7 separate regions of the Homo sapiens genome follow, and regions 1, 2, 3, 4, 5 and 6 are each linked to region 7. The links are contacts of gene promoters, found by promoter capture Hi-C in blood cells and fetal thymus (Javierre and others, 2016). All regions are on one chromosome and are shown on one strand. The core of a region is centred on a gene start or on the middle of the fragment in contact, and the rest is flanking DNA. Distances in the headings are between cores, read along the strand shown.

The links. Contacts are between HindIII fragments. The CHiCAGO score rates a contact against its expected background, and 5 or more counts as called.
Region 1: a contact is called between a fragment that was not itself captured here and the fragment with the promoter of TLE1 in region 7, in 1 of 17 cell types (monocytes). The highest score is 7.5, in monocytes.
Region 2: a fragment that was not itself captured here is called in contact with the fragment with the promoter of TLE1 in region 7 in 1 of 17 cell types (total B cells); the score reaches 5.1 in total B cells.
Region 3: a contact is called between a fragment that was not itself captured here and the fragment with the promoter of TLE1 in region 7, in 2 of 17 cell types (M1 macrophages and M2 macrophages). The highest score is 5.3, in M1 macrophages.
Region 4: a fragment that was not itself captured here is called in contact with the fragment with the promoter of TLE1 in region 7 in 1 of 17 cell types (monocytes); the score reaches 8.5 in monocytes.
Region 5: a fragment that was not itself captured here is called in contact with the fragment with the promoter of TLE1 in region 7 in 1 of 17 cell types (fetal thymus); the score reaches 6.0 in fetal thymus.
Region 6: a contact is called between a fragment that was not itself captured here and the fragment with the promoter of TLE1 in region 7, in 2 of 17 cell types (monocytes and fetal thymus). The highest score is 18.3, in monocytes.

Annotation. Positions count from the first base shown.
Region 1 is chr9:81,077,434-81,080,133 of GRCh38, reverse strand. No RefSeq gene overlaps it. Among named protein-coding and RNA genes, the nearest start is that of TLE1, 610 kb to the left of the region's middle. The HindIII fragment of the contact is 6,440 bases long and covers 1-2,700 here.
Region 2 is chr9:82,608,666-82,611,365 of GRCh38, reverse strand. All of the region lies in intron 2 of LOC107987087 (a long non-coding RNA gene), which reads right to left. Among named protein-coding and RNA genes, the nearest start is that of RASEF, 450 kb to the left of the region's middle. The HindIII fragment of the contact is 300 bases long and covers 1,226-1,525 here.
Region 3 is chr9:82,569,729-82,572,428 of GRCh38, reverse strand. All of the region lies in intron 2 of LOC107987087 (a long non-coding RNA gene), which reads right to left. All of the region lies in intron 1 of LOC105376110 (a long non-coding RNA gene), which reads left to right. Among named protein-coding and RNA genes, the nearest start is that of RASEF, 490 kb to the left of the region's middle. The HindIII fragment of the contact is 554 bases long and covers 1,003-1,556 here.
Region 4 is chr9:81,093,593-81,096,292 of GRCh38, reverse strand. No RefSeq gene overlaps it. Among named protein-coding and RNA genes, the nearest start is that of TLE1, 590 kb to the left of the region's middle. The HindIII fragment of the contact is 984 bases long and covers 780-1,763 here.
Region 5 is chr9:80,988,991-80,991,690 of GRCh38, reverse strand. No RefSeq gene overlaps it. Among named protein-coding and RNA genes, the nearest start is that of TLE1, 700 kb to the left of the region's middle. The HindIII fragment of the contact is 2,625 bases long and covers 67-2,691 here.
Region 6 is chr9:81,116,059-81,118,758 of GRCh38, reverse strand. No RefSeq gene overlaps it. Among named protein-coding and RNA genes, the nearest start is that of TLE1, 570 kb to the left of the region's middle. The HindIII fragment of the contact is 7,791 bases long and covers 1-2,700 here.
Region 7 is chr9:81,688,287-81,690,986 of GRCh38, reverse strand. It overlaps TLE1 (TLE family member 1, transcriptional corepressor), which reads left to right and starts at 1,440. Exons shown (of 20, transcript NM_005077.5): 1 at 1,440-2,700. It overlaps TLE1-DT (TLE1 divergent transcript), which reads right to left and starts at 1,274. Exons shown (of 4, transcript NR_109772.1): 1 at 1,028-1,274. RefSeq lists silencers at 893-1,042, 1,193-1,542 and an enhancer at 1,415-2,129. The HindIII fragment of the contact is 8,493 bases long and covers 1-2,700 here.

The DNA of each region.
Region 1 (2,700 bases), core at 100-2,599, 610 kb after region 7:
TGTTTTCTTGTTTGTTTGTGTTTTTAACTTAAATTTGTCACTCCTCCACTCCCTTAAATCTTTTTCTAACTTTCCAATATTGTTCTGCATATGTATGCCCATGGAAGATACTCTGGTTCTCCCATAGTTTATACTGGAAGAAAGTTGAGCCTTTTGCTAGATGTAGTTCTTCTCTGTTCTTAGAGCATACAGTAGATCATTGAGTTTCTCTTCTCTTTCAGCAATTTAATTTCACATTTATTCCTTCGGCATTGCCTGAACTTGCTCGCTGCTTTCACTAGAATGGTAAGTATATTGTACTATGCTACAATATGCCTTTTAATAATGTTTTCTCTTTTTTAAAAAGGGTGACAAAATGAAAGAATGCTCAGATATCAGTATCTCCAATGGAAAAAATTAGAGTTCTTTCTGTTTTTTCCTGAATCCTTGTTATGGAGTTCTTTCTAGAATTCCATGTCCAACATCTATACATGGATCAGAAAGTAGCATTAATGAATTAGCAGGCAGGTATTTGAGAAAGAACATTCTGGAGCTCACTCCCTACTCACACCTTCATCTATAGTCAAGTGGCTACTTGTTTCTCCTTGGGAGAGATCTTTTCAGGGAAATGTTCTGTCAAAGGCCTTCTCTTGTTTCTCCTTTCCCCTACCATGACCCATGGTGCAGGTGAGTCTAGAACATCAGGAGGTCCTGCACTTTTTCTTTTCCTCCTTGCTCTCTTGCCCTTTATTCTTTCGCAGATTTCCGTATCTTGCTTTAGTTCCTCAGATTTGTCCTGACAATTCTGCTGCTGCTCCTGAAGATTTCAACTTTCCCCAAGTTCTTCATCATCTGCTACCACTCAGTGACATTTACTCCAATGCTTCTCTTCTGCTTTTCAGCAGTTGCTCCTGTAATGCAATCTCCATTTCCCCAATTATTTTTCTGTGTAAATTCTTTACCTAAACATGCTACTCAAGTTTAGCTCACTAGGTTTCCATGTAGCTCATTGTTTCCTGTTTGCTAGGGGGAAGTATTTTCATAGCTCATATTTATTCTGAAAAATAGCATGGACACTGTGCAAAAATATAGATTTAAGAAGCCAGGGGTCAGAGTCTCCTTGTGTCTGTCTTTTCTATTGTGCTTACTATGGGTAATCACAAAGTCTTCCAATAAGTAGGACTGGTTGACTAGGTGGAGATTGCAGGAAGGAAGATGCTCTTGGCAGTGGATAGGATAGGATTTACGCAATGAAATGTCTAAACTTGTTTCTCAGCCAGAGATAACTTGAGTGTTTTATCATACATTTAAGTTTAACTTTTTATTGTTTATTCGATTTGAGTTAAAGTAAAATGATGGCTCATCAATTTTGTAATACACCAGTGTTTTTAGCAATGGCTCTTATTCTGAAGTCTACAGCAGCAGACCACAACAGCTGAGAACTTGGCTGTTGAAGTCAAACCAAATTGGATTCTAAAAACCCTGCTTTACCACTTACTAGGTATGTGGACAAGGCAAGTTATTCATCCTTTCTGGGACTTAGTTTTCCACTATATCAAGTAGGAATAATGATACCTCCTTCCAATGCTATAAGGAATCGAACGATACAAATAAACCTAAAAGTTTTTGTGCCGCTTATTCCAAAAAGTGACTGGAGGAATATGCTTGGTATGGTTAAAAAAAAAACCCTACATTATAAGGTAGCTGCAAAAATCACTTTAGGGAACCTTGGGAGAAATACAGATAGCCAGTCTTTCTCCAGAGCAGCTTTTACTGAGATTCAGTGAACAGGCCTGTTTGACTTCCTATAAAGAGAAATATGTTATATATACTAAGATGCTGGGAGCAATGCAAACAATCAGTAATTTAAAATAGAAGCCCTAAATTAAAGTTACAATGGCAAGCACTCCTACTTGCAGATGCTTATTTATGCTTGAGCAGCTTGTCACAAGAACAATTTCACGTAACTTCCTCAAGATAAGTGGCCTGGAGTTATTAATTTCATGAGTCTTCTCAGAAGGGCTGAAGAGGCCAAGCCAGATAGTGTGAGCTCTCTCTAAAGTGTTAACACAATGTCCAGCATATAGAAAATGTCTTCCCACAATTGTAGCTATGATTATGTTTGGTTAATGTAAGGGCTTCAAGGGGTACATTAATACATTGTGAAATTATATGCCGATTATTCATCATATGTATTTTTCTAAGGGCTGGAACACATGTTTAATCAGATTCTTACATGGTTCTTAATCAGTAAGCATAGAGAGATGTTTTAGATTCTGTCCCAAATGTGAAATCAACCCAGAGTTTCTGTTCATCTTTGATGGTGTCTTGGGGCTAGGGTTAAACCAATGGATCTTCATTTCAGTTTCAGAGTAAAGAAAGGCCATGTGCATGTAGAAATGAGCTTAGCAATCTTGAAACTGGCCTGAAACTGAAGGATGTTTACAGGTAAACATGTAATATATCTGCTAGCTTTGGGCCAAGCTAATAGCCTCCTCCTGGTGGATCCAGGCACCACAAAAACCATTTAGTTGTTCTGTGGATTAACTATGTCCAGGTTTCTTCCTTACTTGATGATCCTTGAAGCTGTCCCTTCATGGATGCTGGTAATTGCCAATGGTTAATTGGTGAGCCTTATAGTCTTTTTTGGTGCCCTGCAATACCAAAAACCTTTTCTTTGAGACAGTGTCTAATGATTCCAAAATGTGAAACCTTCCTTGT
Region 2 (2,700 bases), core at 126-2,625, 920 kb before region 7:
ATTTGATCAAACCTGGCAGTGCATCACTGTGTTTTGATAATTTGATCTTCTTACTTTTTTAATTCTATTCATCCATTTGGTCGGCAAACATTATTTGAGTATCTACAAAAGTGCTAGGTGTTTTACTGCACCTTTGCCCACCTGGAACTCATTGTCTACTAGGAAAGACAACATGTAGACTCTTTTGTTCTTATTGTTCCTGGTGCCTCAGAAATAAAAGTGACCTTGTGCTTTCTTTGACCCGTGAGCATTCCTGCCTGAGAGAAACGTTTTCAGGAGATGTCTTTCCAAACCTTGTATGATTTTGTCTACTCTCGAACTACTCCAACTTCCCCGCTCCCCATCCAATGATGTTTCTTCCCTCTTCATTGTTTATACCTAAAGAAATTGTTAAAGAAAAGGCCTTGGAAAAAAAAAAAGTGCATCGACAGTTAAGCATGATTTTTTTTTTTTAATGGGGAATGCACTCCTGGATTCTAACTCTTTGACACAAAAGACAGTGGTGAAGATCAAATGGGGTGATGCCCTTGAAGCATTATGCTCTCCATAAAGCACCATATAGATGTAAGGGATTATCATATTGTTACAAATATTTCGAAGAAAATGAATGCCCAGGTTGGTGATGTTCTTCCCCCAAAGGCTTGCTCACTATTGTGTAGACACAATCTTCATTCGCTATACTAAGTCAGCACCTCATGCTGTGACTTTTCTTGCATCTCCCCAGGAATGCCATATTTTAAAATGACTATTATACCATGTCATGTAGCTGCAGACCCCTAGCTGCCTCCATTTCTCTACCTGGAAGGTTAATCAAATGTAAGCATTTCCCTATTCTGTAGCAGGCATCCTGGGACATACAATTTGGGATTAGTGACTGACCCTGCTGTTCATTCTGACAGCACACACTCCAGATTGCATTCTCCTTTTAATAAGCAGAGCTGGTAGGAGAAAAGGCAAGAGTCATTAACTAAAAGTTAGCTGAGGATTGAAACACAGCACACTTTGCTTCTGAGAAGCTCTTCTGAAAGGAAACCTTTTGTCCCCAGGAACCATGTAACAGTATATCCAAGGATTTCATGATAATTTATCTTGACCTTTAGCAAAATGAAATCTTATACAATGGCTGGGTCACATATACTTTCTTGGTCACTTATCTGTTACTATATTGCTGCCATTGTTGAAGAGAATGAGCTCAGGAGAGTCACAACGGCTTATGCAATAAGCTTTTTTTACGGAGTACCATGACATACTCAAAATGTGAAGGATTAAACTTAACAGCCTAGAAGGCAGTTGCCAGGGATTCATATTTGAAACCTTTCTTGTGAGGCTACAGGTGCAACTGAGAAGTATTTCTGTGAAGGCACCTTCCTCTTCTCTTTATTCCTATTCCTGCTTTCTTGCCCCAGGGCCAAAGGTAGACATTTTCTCTCCCTCTTGGAGTCTTGGTTTCTGGGTTGCTTGATCTTATTGTGGTAAGGACACTGTGTACCAGCCCAAGGTTGGGTGACTGGAGTGTTTTTAAGCTTCTTGCTACTCAAGTAGTCTCATTCCATGCCTAGTAATATATGTTTCCCTACTTTTTTTTTTCAGGTTGATTTTTTTTTTTTTTTTTTTTTGCAGCATGATGAAAGTGAGCAAATTACTTTATATACAGTGTGAGCTAATGAGAATATTTCTAAAGAATTCAATTTAATCATGATCAATAGCTAGAGGGGTAGACAAATTCTGATCCCAGGATCAGGCAGCTGGGATGGAAAGGACAGAGCTTCCATCTATGGTTTTAAAGTTTGTGCCCTGAGCGGCTTCAAGGCATTCCTAGAGTTATGCGGTGTCTACTTGCACGGATGTACAAGGTATCCTTGTACATCTTATACTTCCCTTGTTTAGTCAGGGAAATACAGAAAGGTCAACCTTTGACTACCTTCTCTACATGTTTCATGGTCTTTCCATCATATGACTTCATCTAACATCTTTTCATCATCAAGACTGCTGTGTCAACATATTACAAAAGAGAAATGATTGGAAAATTGTTGTTTTGAAGAATATGCTTTGAGGTAGTGTGGTAGGCAGAATCCCCAAAGATATCCACACCTTAATCCTCAGCACCTGTGAATATGTTATCTTACATGGAAAAAGTGATTAAGCTAAGAATCTTGAGATGAGGAGATTTCCCTGGATTATCTAGCTGGGTCTAATTTAATCACGAGCCCTTAAAGGTAGTTTTCACAGATGTGGTCAGAGAGAGATATGACAACAGATGAAGAGTCAGAGAGATGTTACCATGCTGACTTTGAAGATGGAGGAAAAGACCATGAGCCAAGCAATGTGGGCAGCCTCTAGGAGTTGGAAAAGGCAAGGAAATGGATTTTCCCCTAGAACCTCCTGAAGAAATGCAGCATTGCTGATGGCTTGATATATAGGGCTATATTGTAGTAAATATGTGTTGTTTTAAGCCACTAAGTTTGTAACAATTTAGAACAGTAGCAATAGGAAACTAATACAGGTAGCAACCCTTCCCTCTTAATCTACTCCTCTCTTTCCTCTCTCAGCCCTCCAAGTGCTCCTGCAGATGATTAACTTAGTTTACACATCAGGACCAAAAAAGAGAATGGTTTCCAGCAGGGGTCAAGAAGGGGTAGGAACCAGATCATAAATCCTACTGTTATAGCAGGAAAATAGCTAGAAGTAATATGTAAATGA
Region 3 (2,700 bases), core at 30-2,529, 880 kb before region 7:
TGAGGTCAAAGAAGAATACAAAGCTTGTAGCTTAAAGAAGATTGTCTCTACTTTTGCATTGTGCAAGATTATGTAGAAACTGATTACAATACAAAATTATCTGATACTTCCTAATTTCAACAATGCTGCCAGGTCTGACTCTTGGGGAAGCAAAGTAGGTACAATGCACAGTTGCCCTAAACTTTTCTTCCTTCACTGGGGCGCCCAGGCTGCTTTTTAATAAATGGCTCCTTGCTTGGGTACCAGGTGCATTTGCTCAAGGCGCTTCCAAAGAGTTCACCTACCTCACATTAGTCAGCAGCTTGCTATGAGAGAAACCATCACTTTGCCTCACTGAAGGATTATTTAGCCCTTATAAAACACACCACATCTCCCATTATCAACAGGACATTTAATTAGCCCCCACTGATTCACCAAGCAAAGCAACTTGTATGAATTTTTTTGGCTTTTCATTGTGGCTTTAGGATATCCACATACTTCTTGATATTTTGAAAATTTTCATTCCAGTTCCACTCTAAGTTTTCAGAGTAGAAGTGTACATAAGTAAAAAATTTCTTCAGGTAACTGAACAGTACTTTTCAACCATTCATGTGGTATAAACTGAACTACCTACTAGAGAGACTGGGAGGAAGCAGGGAGGGGATCCTTTGCAGAGCAGGGTGTGCACAGAGTGCACTGTGTGCACAGTCACTCAGGATTGCTTTGGAGATGCTTCCAAGGAAACCCTGCTGTTCACCTGCAGTTAGGGCACCTCTCAGCATGCTCTTTAAAGGGTGGCTTTCCTTATCCTTAGGCTGTATCTGAATATGGCTTATATCATGGACTGGATTCCAAAGCAAAAAAGAAAATATTTGCCCATGGGTGAATGCTGATCTTCAACTTCATTTTACTTAGCCTTTGGGCAATTAGACTAATACCTACATTTTATTGTTTAGGGAAAAATTACACCTCTAAAGTCTTTAGTAATAATGCACCTAGATGGACCAAATCCCAAAAAAAGCTTTTCTTTGCCTTACCCTCCAGCATGTTTTGTTTCCAAATTCATATACAGGAGAAAGTTATTAACTAATCCTCTGTGCTAGGAGATTTTATAAATTATCTTAATATTTGGAATTACTCTTTGAAGTAGATATTAGTCCTTCTATAACACCAAATTCAGTTGCTAGCACATAGAATCTCAATACAGAGCGAATGAAGAAAAGCTAAAAAGATAAATGAATGAATTTACAAATGAGTTCAGATAGAGCTAAATGACTTGTTCATGGTTATAGAACTAGTAAGCTGAAGAGCTGGTATTTTAGGTTAAAAAATGGTGGTGGTGAAGCACATATTGCAGACCAGATCTAAGCCAGTTTGCCCATTCAATTTTTTAAGTTATTTTGGTATATACCAGTAGCTTCTGAAGGCTATTAATATGTGGGCTATTGTTTTCTCACAGATTGTATTTATTCATGAAATCAAGTCCTAAGAATAAATTCTGCCATACTTACAAAACACATTTATAATCAAGTGGGTACAATAGCAGTCAGTTGTCACAAAACCATTTATTGGAAGCTTAGTTGTATCTCCCCCTTCTTGTCCTGTTAGAGATTCTGACAAACACCTTATTTGTAAGATGTGCCCCGAAGGCAAGTGCAGCAAATATTTTGACAGGAGAATAACTAATCTACCAGTTGGATCAAGGAACAGAATCATCTATTATAAAGTGGGGAACATAGGACTATAGAAGTTTCAGATGGTGGGGTTGCTCTTAAGGTGTGAAGTTACTGTCTAGAGCTTCCTGTTCCCCATTCACAAGAGGGTAAAGATGCCTGTACAGATGGCAAGCCAATGGCTCCTAAACCATATAGAGTGTGGCAAATGTATGACCTAGTTGTTCTATACCAGTTGCTCCCTTTGCCAGGAACTGCCAAAGCTCTTAAGCTAAAGCCACTACCAGATATGCTCACCCCTTGAAAAAGGCTATGGCCAAGATGCTGGCTTTCCAGCTGGGAGCCTCCAGAGGGTGCCCTCCCCTTTGGCACATCTGTTGGAAAATGACTGTTCTTGGACTGCAGCTGTTTCTCAACCATCATCTACTTTGCTGTACCTATGTCACCCTGGAAATCAGAATAATCCAGAGTAGAAGGAACTACCAGGGTCTCCAAGCTCCTTCTCTTCCTCACTTGGCATTGATCTCTGGAGAACTGGTCCTGATGGAAATCCTGAGGGCAAACCACCTTCTTTTTTTCTCTACACATGATTTGTAGGGTTAGTGATTTGAACTCCCTAAGCAAGGCACACAGTCTTTTTTTTTTTAATATACTTTAAGTTCTAGGGTACATGCGCACAATGTGCAGGTTTGTTACCTATGTATACATGTGCCATGTTGGTGTGCTGCACCCATTAACTCCTCATTTACATTAGGTATACCTCCTAATGCTTTCCGTCCCCACTTCCCCCACACCACAACAGGCCCCGGTGTGTGATGTTCCCCTTCCTGTGTCCAAGTGTTCTCATTGTTCAATTCCCACCTATGAGTGAGAACATGCGGTGTTTGGTTTTTTGTTCTTGCGATAGTTTGCTGAGAATGATGGTTTCCAGCTTCATCCATGGCCCTACAAAGGACATGAACTCATCCTTTTTTATGGCTGCACAGTATTCCATGGTGTATATGTGCCACATTTTCTTATTCCAGTCTATCACTGATGGACATTTGGG
Region 4 (2,700 bases), core at 22-2,521, 590 kb after region 7:
TGTTTTCATCTTCAGAACAGCATTACCAGGGTTAGCCTTCTTTTGAAAAGTTTTTAAATTTGTCAGAAGATTTATGTTGAAATCACAATGAGCCTTTTCCAGATCTTGCCTTTTTAAAATATATGGTACCCCAATTCATTCTCCAGATCCTGTACCCTTTTTATATACTCTATCTTTGTTATGGATATGCATTTCATATACTGATCTAGGTAGCTCAGGATGTTTCATAGACTATTAACCACAATTCTTATCTTGCTCTCTGAGGTTATGGGCCTTATACTACCATACTCATTTAGTCCCATATCACTTCAAGTTTCTTCTTGCTTAGCACACATTGCTCCCCAATTGAAAAAGACACTGCCCAGGCTCAGGGGCAGACAAAATCCTGTTCTTCCGTATCTTTTTCTATTCTTTTATCTTATAAAAGAATATGAATTATCTTATCTTATATGAAATAGCTTATAAAATATTTCAAACATACAGAAAATATAAAGATAATTTAAAGAAAATTCATGTCCTTTCTACCTATTTGACTTCAGAAAATTTTAACTTTTTTTGACTCAGATCTTTTCTTTAAGCAAACAAAAACAGATATTTTAACCAACAAAAATGTCCATGATGTACAGTAGAAGACCTGTATTCACTCTCATCTCTTATTGGCCCCAGACAAAGGCAATTACTTTCCTAAACTTGGCAAATAAAATCCCCAAGCATGCTTTCGTACAAAGATTTCATTTGTACTGCTATACTTATGATAATCTATGTTATTACATAAAGCTTTATTTCATTAATCTTTACTGTTGCATCCATATGGAAAACATCCATAATATGAATATGTTCTACTTATTTAACCAATCTTTAACCTATGTGGAGGACTACCTGGGGGTGTACACCTAGAAGTGGAAGAGCTGGCTTGAAAGGCATGTACACCTTCCAACTTGACTAGATTATTCTCTAATGTAATTGAATTCTTTTAGACTACTTAGAATAAATAAGAAGTCTGTTTTCCCTATGCTTACCAGTACTGAGTATTTTATCCAGTCATTTAATACTTACTGAGTGTTCCCATGAAACAAATACTGTTCTGTGTGCTGAAGATGCAACAAGGAAAAAATCAAAGATTTCTGCCTTCATGGAGGGGTTTTTATCATATTTAAAAAAGTTTTGTCATTGTCGTGCGTGAAATGGTAGCTGTTAGTTGTTTCATCTTGTATGTCTCAGACTAACTGTCAGGTTAAGTATTTGTTCATATTTTTGTCCATTCTGTGAATTGCTTAATGGTATCTTTAATCACTTCCAAATATTGGTAGTAAGTTTCTTACTTATACAAAAGTTTTTGTTTTTCAATGTTCTAAGCCTTCATCAGTTAGGCCTTTGCAAATTTTTGCTTCTAGTCAATAAGTAAAGTTATACTTTGTTTATGGAGCCATTATTGAAATGAAATAACTTGATATTCATTTACTTGATTTTGTTAGTTGATTCTTAAAGATTTGTGCTTTTTGTTTGTAACAACATTCTTCAGAGCAACAGCTTTGGGTATATAAATTCTTTGGCATTTTTTTGTTTTCTATTTGTATTAATCTCTGTTCTTTTTTCAATTTTTTTTATTCTTTCTATATTATTTAGTTTTTTATTTAAATTTTTAATTTACTGAGTTGAACAATGACTCATTAATTTTGTCTTTCCAAGTTTTGAAATAAATGTCAGTATTTATTTAGAAGTTTTTTCCGTATAAACTCTGCTTCAGTTTTATCTTATAAGCTTTGATGGTTGTAAATAAATATTTAGAAATTTTTATTGTAATTTCCTCATTAACTTATGAGTCACTTAGGAATCCATTTTTAATTTCTAAAACATATTGAGTGTTTTCAACTGTCTTGTTTACTCTCATTGAAATTGCCTATGACTGATGATCATTTTCACCATAACATTCAAAGAAAATTATTAAAACATCCTTTGTCACCTTGTACATGCTAATTTTTAATGCTCTATGTATATATGAGAACAATATTTTCTTGTAAAGGATAATCTTTGATTCATGTTTCTACTTACTAAATCTTAGTTTTTGAGTATCTTAAAATCTCTTTATTGTGTATTTATTCATAAATAAAACTGTACCTAAGAATAAAATTTCAAGCTGTCATTTTTTTCTCTGCACTTAGAAACAATGGCTTCATTGATTTCAGACATCTCTTACTACTGTTAGTTTGTCAATTCTTCATTAACAAAATGCATTTTCCCTAGTAGCTTTTAAAATTTTTCTCTTTATTCTTCATGTTTATGATACAAAATATCTAGATATAGAATTATATTTATTATTATTTTTTGTTGTCAGACTATTAATCTGAAAACATTTTTGTTCAAATTGGGTAATCCTAAATTTTTGTCTTTTCAGTATGACTTCTCGGTCATTTACTTTATATTCCTTTGCTAGAGTTTCTATTAATTGTATGTCTGAGCCCCTTAATTTCTCCTTCATTTTGCTTGCTTTTTCTTATATTTAAGTTTTTTTCTTTAGCCTTTTCTCGTTAGCTTTATTTTTATCTTTTCATTTGTTCCTCATGTTTTCTCTATTATTTTTAACATATTAGTCATAGTTACCTTAAAATCCATGTCTGCTAATCTTAACTATCTTTTTGGTCTTGATTATCAGTGGTATGGATTATCTGTTGGTCTGCTTGTATTTTTTTATTCCTCTTG
Region 5 (2,700 bases), core at 130-2,629, 700 kb after region 7:
ATGTTGAAGTCCTAACCTCCAAAGCAACTATATCTGGAGAGAGGGTCTTTAGGAGGCAATTAAGCTTAAATGAGGCCATAAGGGTGGGCCTCTAATATAGGACTGTGGCTTTATAAGAGGAGGACAATCTCTCTTTCTTTCTTTTTCTCTCTCTCTGTCTCTCTCTTTCTGCCATTTGAGGACACAACAAGAAAGCAGCCATCTACAAGCCAGGAAGAGAGCCCCAACCAGAACTCACCCTAATCTTGGTCATCCACCCTCCAGACCTGTGAGGAAGTAAATTTTTGTTGTATAAGCCACCTAGTCTATGGTATTTTGTTAGGGCAGTTCAAACTGACTATAATACAGATGATTATAGTCAACCGCTATAATTATAGCAGTTTTTTACATAATAGCCCCAACCTGGAAATAACCAGGATGTCTTTCAATAGGTGAATGGTTAAATAAACTGCGGTACATCTATACCATAAAAAATTTCTGAGCATTAAAAAAAAACCCCAAAGTATTGATACAAGGAACAACTTCACTGAATCCTCAGAGATCCATCCTGGAGTGATGGAGAATGTGCTGTGTTTTCAACGTATCGATGTCAATATCCTACTGTGATATTGTGCTATAATTTCTCAAGATGTTACCATTAGGGGAAACTGAGTAAAAAGTATATGGATCTTTTGGTATTCAACTTCAAGTGAAGCAACAATTATCTCAAAATAGTTTAGTTTTTAAAAATCTATACAACTTATTCAAGATATTATAAAAAGAAATACATCTGCTTTTGTCCACTCTGTCTCTCTCTTTCTGCCATTTGAGGACACAACAAGAAAGCAGCCTATACTATAATAATGTCTACCTTTCCTAATTGTTTGATAGGTTTAAAGTGTTTACAACTTCATTTGAATTACATTTTATTTTGATTATTATAAAGTTTGCTTGTGTAAGAAAACAGCTGAAAAACATTTTTTTAAACTCTTTTTGTATTTCAATAGGTTTTTGGAGAACAGGTCATGTTTGGTTACGTGAATAAGATCTGTTTGGTTTTTTTTTTTTTTTTTTGAGACAAAGTCTCACTCACTCTGTTGCCCAGGCTGGAGTACAGTGGTGCAATCTCAGCTCACTGCAACTTCTGCCTCCTGGGTTCAAGCGATTTTCCTGCCTCAGCCTCCTTAGTAGCTGGGATTACAGGCACACACCACCACATCCAGCTAATTTTTGTATTTTTTGGTAGAGACAGAGTTTCACCATATTGACCAGGCTGGTCTCGAACTCCTGACCTCAAGTAATCCGTCTGCCTCAGCCTCCAGGCATGAGCTACCACGTCCAGCCTGGTTACATGAATAAGTTCTTTAGTGGTGATTTCTGAGATTTTGGTGCACCCATCACCTGAGCAGTGGAAAGTGTACCCAACGTGTAGTATTTTATTCCTCACCCCCTCCCACTCTTTCCCCCAAGTCCCCAAAGTCCGCTGTATCATTCTTATGCCTTTGCATCCTCATAGCTTAGCTCCCACTTATGAGTGAGAACATACGATGTTTGGCAGAAAACAGCTGAAATTGTTTTTAAGAAGTAGGATCATAATATCCATGTTGAAGTATCTAGTAATCAAAGTTGTGTAAGCCTACAAAAATCATACAGAATGGCCATTAAAATCTATAGATTATTCTTGAAATAGATGTATATACACATTTGTATGTGTATGAGTGTGTGTTTGTTTGTGTATATGCTTGGGGTGCCTACAGTCTTTATTGTTTAAAGATTAGTAAGACCAAGTTTAAGGTCTATTGGAATGAAATCTGAGACAAGTGTGAGGCCCTGAATGTTAAAAGAAAAACATAATAATAGTTTCTTCTACCCTAAGTGGAGAGTAGCCTGAGTGGCTAGACTAATAATCTTGTAGAAAGTGATGTGAGATGTCTAAGTGTTAGTTGGGGCAATGAATCGATGGTTTTCAGGAAATGGTGCTTTTGCATGGACTTCTCCATGGTGTGAGGCATATTCTTTGATTAGGTGTTATCAAAGTACTAATGGCAGAAGCAGAGGATAATTAAGGGCTCTAGGAAAAGAGGGATGGTATATACCAACAAGAAAACAACCACCAAGACAATTATATGATATACCTAACAAGAAGGGAGAAGGAATTTTTGATTCCCAGTTGTTTTACTGATCACATTTCCAGAGTTCTGTCCTCAGCTCTCAGTCCCAACCTTCTTGTATAAAAACCTAAGAGGAAGGAGCACTGGATGCATGACATATTACTTAGAAATTCATTCCACTGCAAGACACAGAAAACCTTAAGCAGCACCAACACATGAGGTGATTGATTTCACATTGCAAGAATTCTGGGAGGATAGCCCAGGGTGGAAGTGGTGCTCAAAAAATGTACAGGGACCCCAACTTTTAAGTCAGTTCTTTCACTTTTTCCTATGTTACTCCACCTCCAAATTCATGTGTGTATTTTAGTAAGAAAGAAGTAGGGCAAAGGGCTCACACAAAAGTTACACCAATCTTGGAAAATTTTTATTATGTGTTTTTTTTTCTGAATTTGGCGTATAACAGATAAATATTCTTTACTATGAAACCTTTCTTTTGCAAATGCACATTGATGAAATGGAAATGGAAAATGATAAGAGAAAAATATATTTAAATGACAGCCAAATTAATACAGCTTTGGGCTCAGTACAAGTATACAAAGCTTAAGTGACA
Region 6 (2,700 bases), core at 168-2,667, 570 kb after region 7:
TATCTTCAACACTTTTAAGTCTCTTTACTCCAGGGCTCAACATTCAAATTCTAGGAGGGTATCCTCTGGTTGGCATGAGGCATATGCCACCACTGTGGTTAGAACAGGACTCAGAACCTTGCTTAACAGCCTTAGCGGAATGTACACAAAGAGCAAGCTAGTAAGTTCCCCAAAGAACTCTGAATACTTTCAGCAAGAGAATATGCAGTGGATGCTAGGAAGCCACAAAAGCAACAGCTGACCTCTACAAGGTCATTGCAAGTCTTGGGACTTAAAATTTGCTATTATAATATTTAAACATTACAAGGGTAGAAGAGATGTTATAGAGAGGGACCAAGTTCAGTCTAAACTGAAGTGCCTGAACCTGATTTAGATTATAAGCCTTTAGAAAATATTATAGGGTATATCTACATAATTCTCCTTAAGTGACCTTTTGCAAAGCCAAGTACATTCAGAGACCTAATCAACTTGTCATGCTCTTGCAGCTTATCAGAGAATTCTAACTTCAATGGCTAAATACTGGGCCCATTGCTAGGGGTAGAGATACAAATAAGACATGCTCTGACTTCAAATAATTCTAAGTCTGGCATGGGGGAAATGAGAAATGCTTGCAACTTGCTATGATGCAGAGGTATAGATGCCTCCTTGCAGAATGAATAAAGAGGCATCACAGGAAAAAGAGATTCACTCTTCTTGGAGGTGCTGAGGAATGCTCAATGGAGAAGATGACTTTTGAAGTAGATCTTATAGAAATGGCTATTTTTGTTTCTTCTGAGTTAAGGGAAGGACAATGGGAATTCTAGATAGAAAAACTGCAGTAGATGTATGGAGATCTGGAAAGGTTGAGGAGGGTGCACGGGGAGTGGAGCAAGCTCATGGGTATGAGCATGAAGGGAGTGGATAGCAAATGAGTCTAGCCAGTGAAGGGGATGCTATTGTAAGGATTTGGGACTTTACATTGAATAAAAGATTAGGCATTGATGATTTCTGGATCAGGATGCTGTGTTGGGATCCATAGATTAAAGAGGGGGGACATAGACTGGCGGGGAAGATAGATCTGAGGTTATCACAGTAAGCCCAGGAGACATGTTGGAGGGCTGCAGTGAGGCACGGACATTTTTCAGGCTTAATCAGTAAGAAATGGGACTGACTTGATATAAGGGGAACAGAGAAAACTCAAAACATGCTGATTGTTTCTAGCTCTGTTCATAGGGTCACGATTATATTAAATAGGAAAAGAGAGACAGATTTGGCGAGAAGCAAATGAGATTGGTAAGATACACATTGGTTAAAAATGTGTAAGCTCTTAAGATTTTTAACTCATTCTCACCTATCAGGTCTGGGCTGGTTGTTTCCCCAAATATTACCATGTCAGTAATAAACATAAAAGATCACACCCAGCAAGCAGGTAATAAACACACATAACCTTCATCCTCTACAATGCCTTGCTCAGATGGCTCTCCCGTGGTGGGAGATAGGGGTGTATACTTGAGAAAAGACCAATGCCTGGGCAGCCCAAGATAGATGTCTAATAAACAAAAAAGACCTAATATGATCTAAGCTATGGCGTCCACTTGCTAGACCGGGCAAGCTGACTTTATTACAGACTGCTGTAGGTTATTAAGGTAGACAGTGACAGATCATTTTGTAAGGCCCAGAGAGAGCCAGATCCATCTGCCTAGAAAAACAAATAAATCCCAGTTCAGAACTGAGGTTAAAAAAGATTTACAAGGCGCACTGATGCATGTGCCCCTCTCTGGGTGGGTTGTGGTGGCCGGCCACGGGGGTTGCCCTCATTGGTTCAACACAGCCTGCCATCTGGGGAGACAGCAAGCTCTTGGGCTCATATTACAAGGCATTTTCCCATTTCCTTTTCTATGGTCTAGCTTCGGCAGAAAAAATGGACAACAGGCTGGAGGAGGATAAAAAATAAACAAGAGAGGGAAAAGAGTCTCTCTCTGAGCAATCTTATAAAACAAAGCATAAATCTTTAACTGCCTGACCTTTCAGCTCACATGATTCTTGGTGCAGGAGGGATAAATCAGAGCTCATCTGGAGGCTCAGGGGAGGGCAGCTTTCTGCCTTCCAACAGGAAGCAGCCTATTTGCGGAAAGCACATAGGTGTGTCCTTGTTTTTAATAGAAGCTCAATTGATTTCCTAGAAATTGAAATGTTCCCTTGGTTGGGAAATGAAATTTCTACTTGGCCGTTCCACCTCTGGCCACCTCTTGGTGGCAGGTCTTATTGCATATTGCTGGAATTAACAGAGAAAGGCCAAGTAAAAGGTCTTGGGGGCAGACTTCCTCATAACAGGGAGCCCCTCTCCTAGATGCAAATAAAACTGGCAAAGGTTGAGGGTTTTGCAGATGCAACTCCCTGCAGTATGGTGAAGGGCGTTTCATTAACCCTTCTTGTGCTGATCTCCAACTTGCCTGTCTTGTGTTCCTGTGTTGTCATCATGGCGCATAACTACTCCATTAGAGCCAAGGGTCAGCTCCTGGTTTCAGCAACACAGCAGATATTTTCTATCTGACGGCTTTGGTGCTCTTGACTGCAGCCAGCCCCTTCATCACAGCAACCAGAGTAACATTTACACAAATACTTGTTTCTTTAATATGTGGGGAAAGGAGTGTGCTTTTTCTTAGCTAGCTGACAATCATTGTGATAAACAGGTTTCTCCATGTAAGAGAAATTTTTCTT
Region 7 (2,700 bases), core at 191-2,690:
GACGGTTTTCTGCTGTGTATTTAGAGACATACACAAAAACCAAAGACTCTCAGCATTAATTATACAGCATGTCTTGATTATTACAATCTCAAAATCCCTTTTAACTCAAGTTCCACTTCATAAGAACCTTAGCCACGTCATTTACCTAACTCTTCCCATTTAGCTCTTCACACAGCTCAGCTCAGGAGTACCACCCAGACTGTGGGGGTGGGGTGTGCGGGACAGGTTTTTCAGGTCTCAGTGCTGGTTTATTACATTGTCTCTCTTTGTTCCCAGGAATTGGAAACAGACTCGTAGTCTTGTAGCTGAGAAGTTCCTAAAAACCTCAGCCGCTCCCCACCTCTCCCAACACAGCGAAGTCAGGACTTTTAAGACGAAGACCTGGGATTTCGCGCCCCGGGCAAAACGTCTCATCTGCGGACACGCGTGCCTTGTTCTGGCAGCACCCTGGGAATCCTTCCCGCCAAACGGGACAGGACGATCTTTTTGAAAAGTGGCTTGAAATCCTGCAATAAAAATCAAATCCTACCACTTTGGGTGCAAAGGGGGTGGGTGGGGTGGGAGGACATCACAGTCGTCTTTGCTGGTGTACCTACGCCAACCGTGGCGTTGCTCATTTACGCATTTCCAACTAAGTGCACAGTCCACTCCCTCTCGTACATCCGTAAAAAGGCAGCTCAAGGAAAAACAAACCTCAGATAAATTTTTGAATGTGGCCTCACTTTTAGAGTAGCATCAAACAAGGGGTCCAGCACTGAAAAACACATTTGCTCGAATTACCAAAAGCCCCCCTCCGCCTCCAATAAGAAACTCCGCAGCTAGTCTTTGAGTTACTTTCACTTAGATCTGAGGATTTTCATTAAAGGGAAAAGTGAGCAAGTGGCAGGATTTTTGCTAACTCGAGCCCTCAGCTTCCCCGGCTGCACGCTCGCCAGTCCCTCCCGCTAGCGCGCGCCCGCGCGCTCTCTAGCCAGCCCCACGTTACTTTGATTGACAGCCCAGCCCCGCCGCTCTCCTTCCCACCGACCTTCCCATCATCAGTGCCAATCTCCGCGAATCGCCGCTTCCCATTGGCTGGTTTTGGCGTCCCGCGGCTCCTCCAGGAACAGTTCCTCACCAAGCCCGGGAGGACGCGGCTGGCGGAGGAGGGGCCGGGATGGGAAGGGAGACCGAGGAGACGGCGGAGATGGAAGCGAGAGGAGGGGGGGAGGGAGAACGCCCCGTCCGGCGCTGCGCTGCCATACGCTCCGGGGAGGAGCGCGTCAGCGCCCCACGTTGGTTGCAGCGCACGCGATTGGCTGATGCGGGCCTTCTGCCCCCCCCCCACCCCCCAACCTCCCGGGCTCACGTCCCCCGCCGGCTCCGCGCTCGCGCCCCCCGCCCGAACGGGGCTGGGCGGGGCCGGCGCTGGTTAGCTCCGGAGTGTGAAACCGCGTGTTAATGTAAGCGGCGCGAGAGGCGCGGGCGGCGGCGGCGGTGGGAGCGGCGGCTGCAGAAGCAGCAGCAGCAGAAACAGCGGCGGGTACTCTGTGCCCCGCGTCCCGGAGGCAGCCGACTGCGCCACCCCACCCTCGCACGGCCGGGCGGGACCCGCGCCACCAGCCCGGACCTCCGTCGTCCCGCGGCGACCAAAACCCCCGCTGGCCCCACCGCTGTGACTACTCTGGACTCGCCCGCAGAGTTTGCCCGCCGGGGAGGGTGGCCGATTGGCGGAGCGCACTCCTGCTGTTTTCCCCACCATCTCGTGGATGTCGTCCCTCGGGTGGTGAGAGAACTTTGCAGTGGGCTGGAGCGCCCTTTGCGGAGAAGCACACGAAGGTGAAGGAAGGAAAGAAAGAAGACCGAGGAAGAAGGAGCTCGGAAGAAGGGTCCGGAGCGGCCGGTCCGGCCGTGCAGGGCGAGTGCGCCCGAGGCGCGGCGCCCTGATGCTCCCCGGGCTCGAGGAGCATTGGGCACTTGCGGGACTGCTCTCGGTGGAGTAGCCCCGTCGGGCCCGGAGGGTTTGTGCAACCGCGGAGAACACCGAGTGCTGGTCGCACGGGGCGTGCCGAGCCGCCTCCCGGCGCGCCCTCCGCACTTTCCCCGCCTCGTCATCCGTCGCTCCCCGGCCAGGAGCCTCCGCTGCGTCTTCAACCTCGCTCCCCTTTGCGTCCCGGGAGCCTGCGAGCACCCGGCCGAAGGCGCAGCCGAATCTTGCGGGAGTCGCCCCGAAAGCGTCGGGTTTGTGTGGGGTTAGCGGGGGCCGCCGCGCCACCTGCACCTCGCCCGCCGCCGCCTCGGGGAAAGCCCGAAGAGGAGGCGGACCAGGAGAAGAGCAAAGAAAAGCAGTCCGTCTGGATTTGTTTGCCCAGGACTGGCGCCGCGCACGCGGATCGCCGAGGGGAGTGCGGTCGGAGTCACCGCGCCCCCGCCTCCCCGCCCGGGCAGCTGAGGCCGGGGGTTGGAGCGCTGCCCCCGCGCACAGTCCCCGAGCGCCCGACGTCTCCGCGCAGGTTCTTGAAGCAGCTGGGCCTGGGGCGCCCACTAATGTGGCCCTGAGGGCCGGAGCCCGCACCGACGGGAGCGGGAGCCGGAGCAGCTGCGGGCGCCGAGTGGCCGGTGCGCCCGGCGGAGCGCGCGTGCGTGGCCAGCGCGCTCCCCGCTTCTGCTTGGCTTTCCGGCTTAATTTTCCTCGGCGGGATTAAAGTTGGAAATTGACCG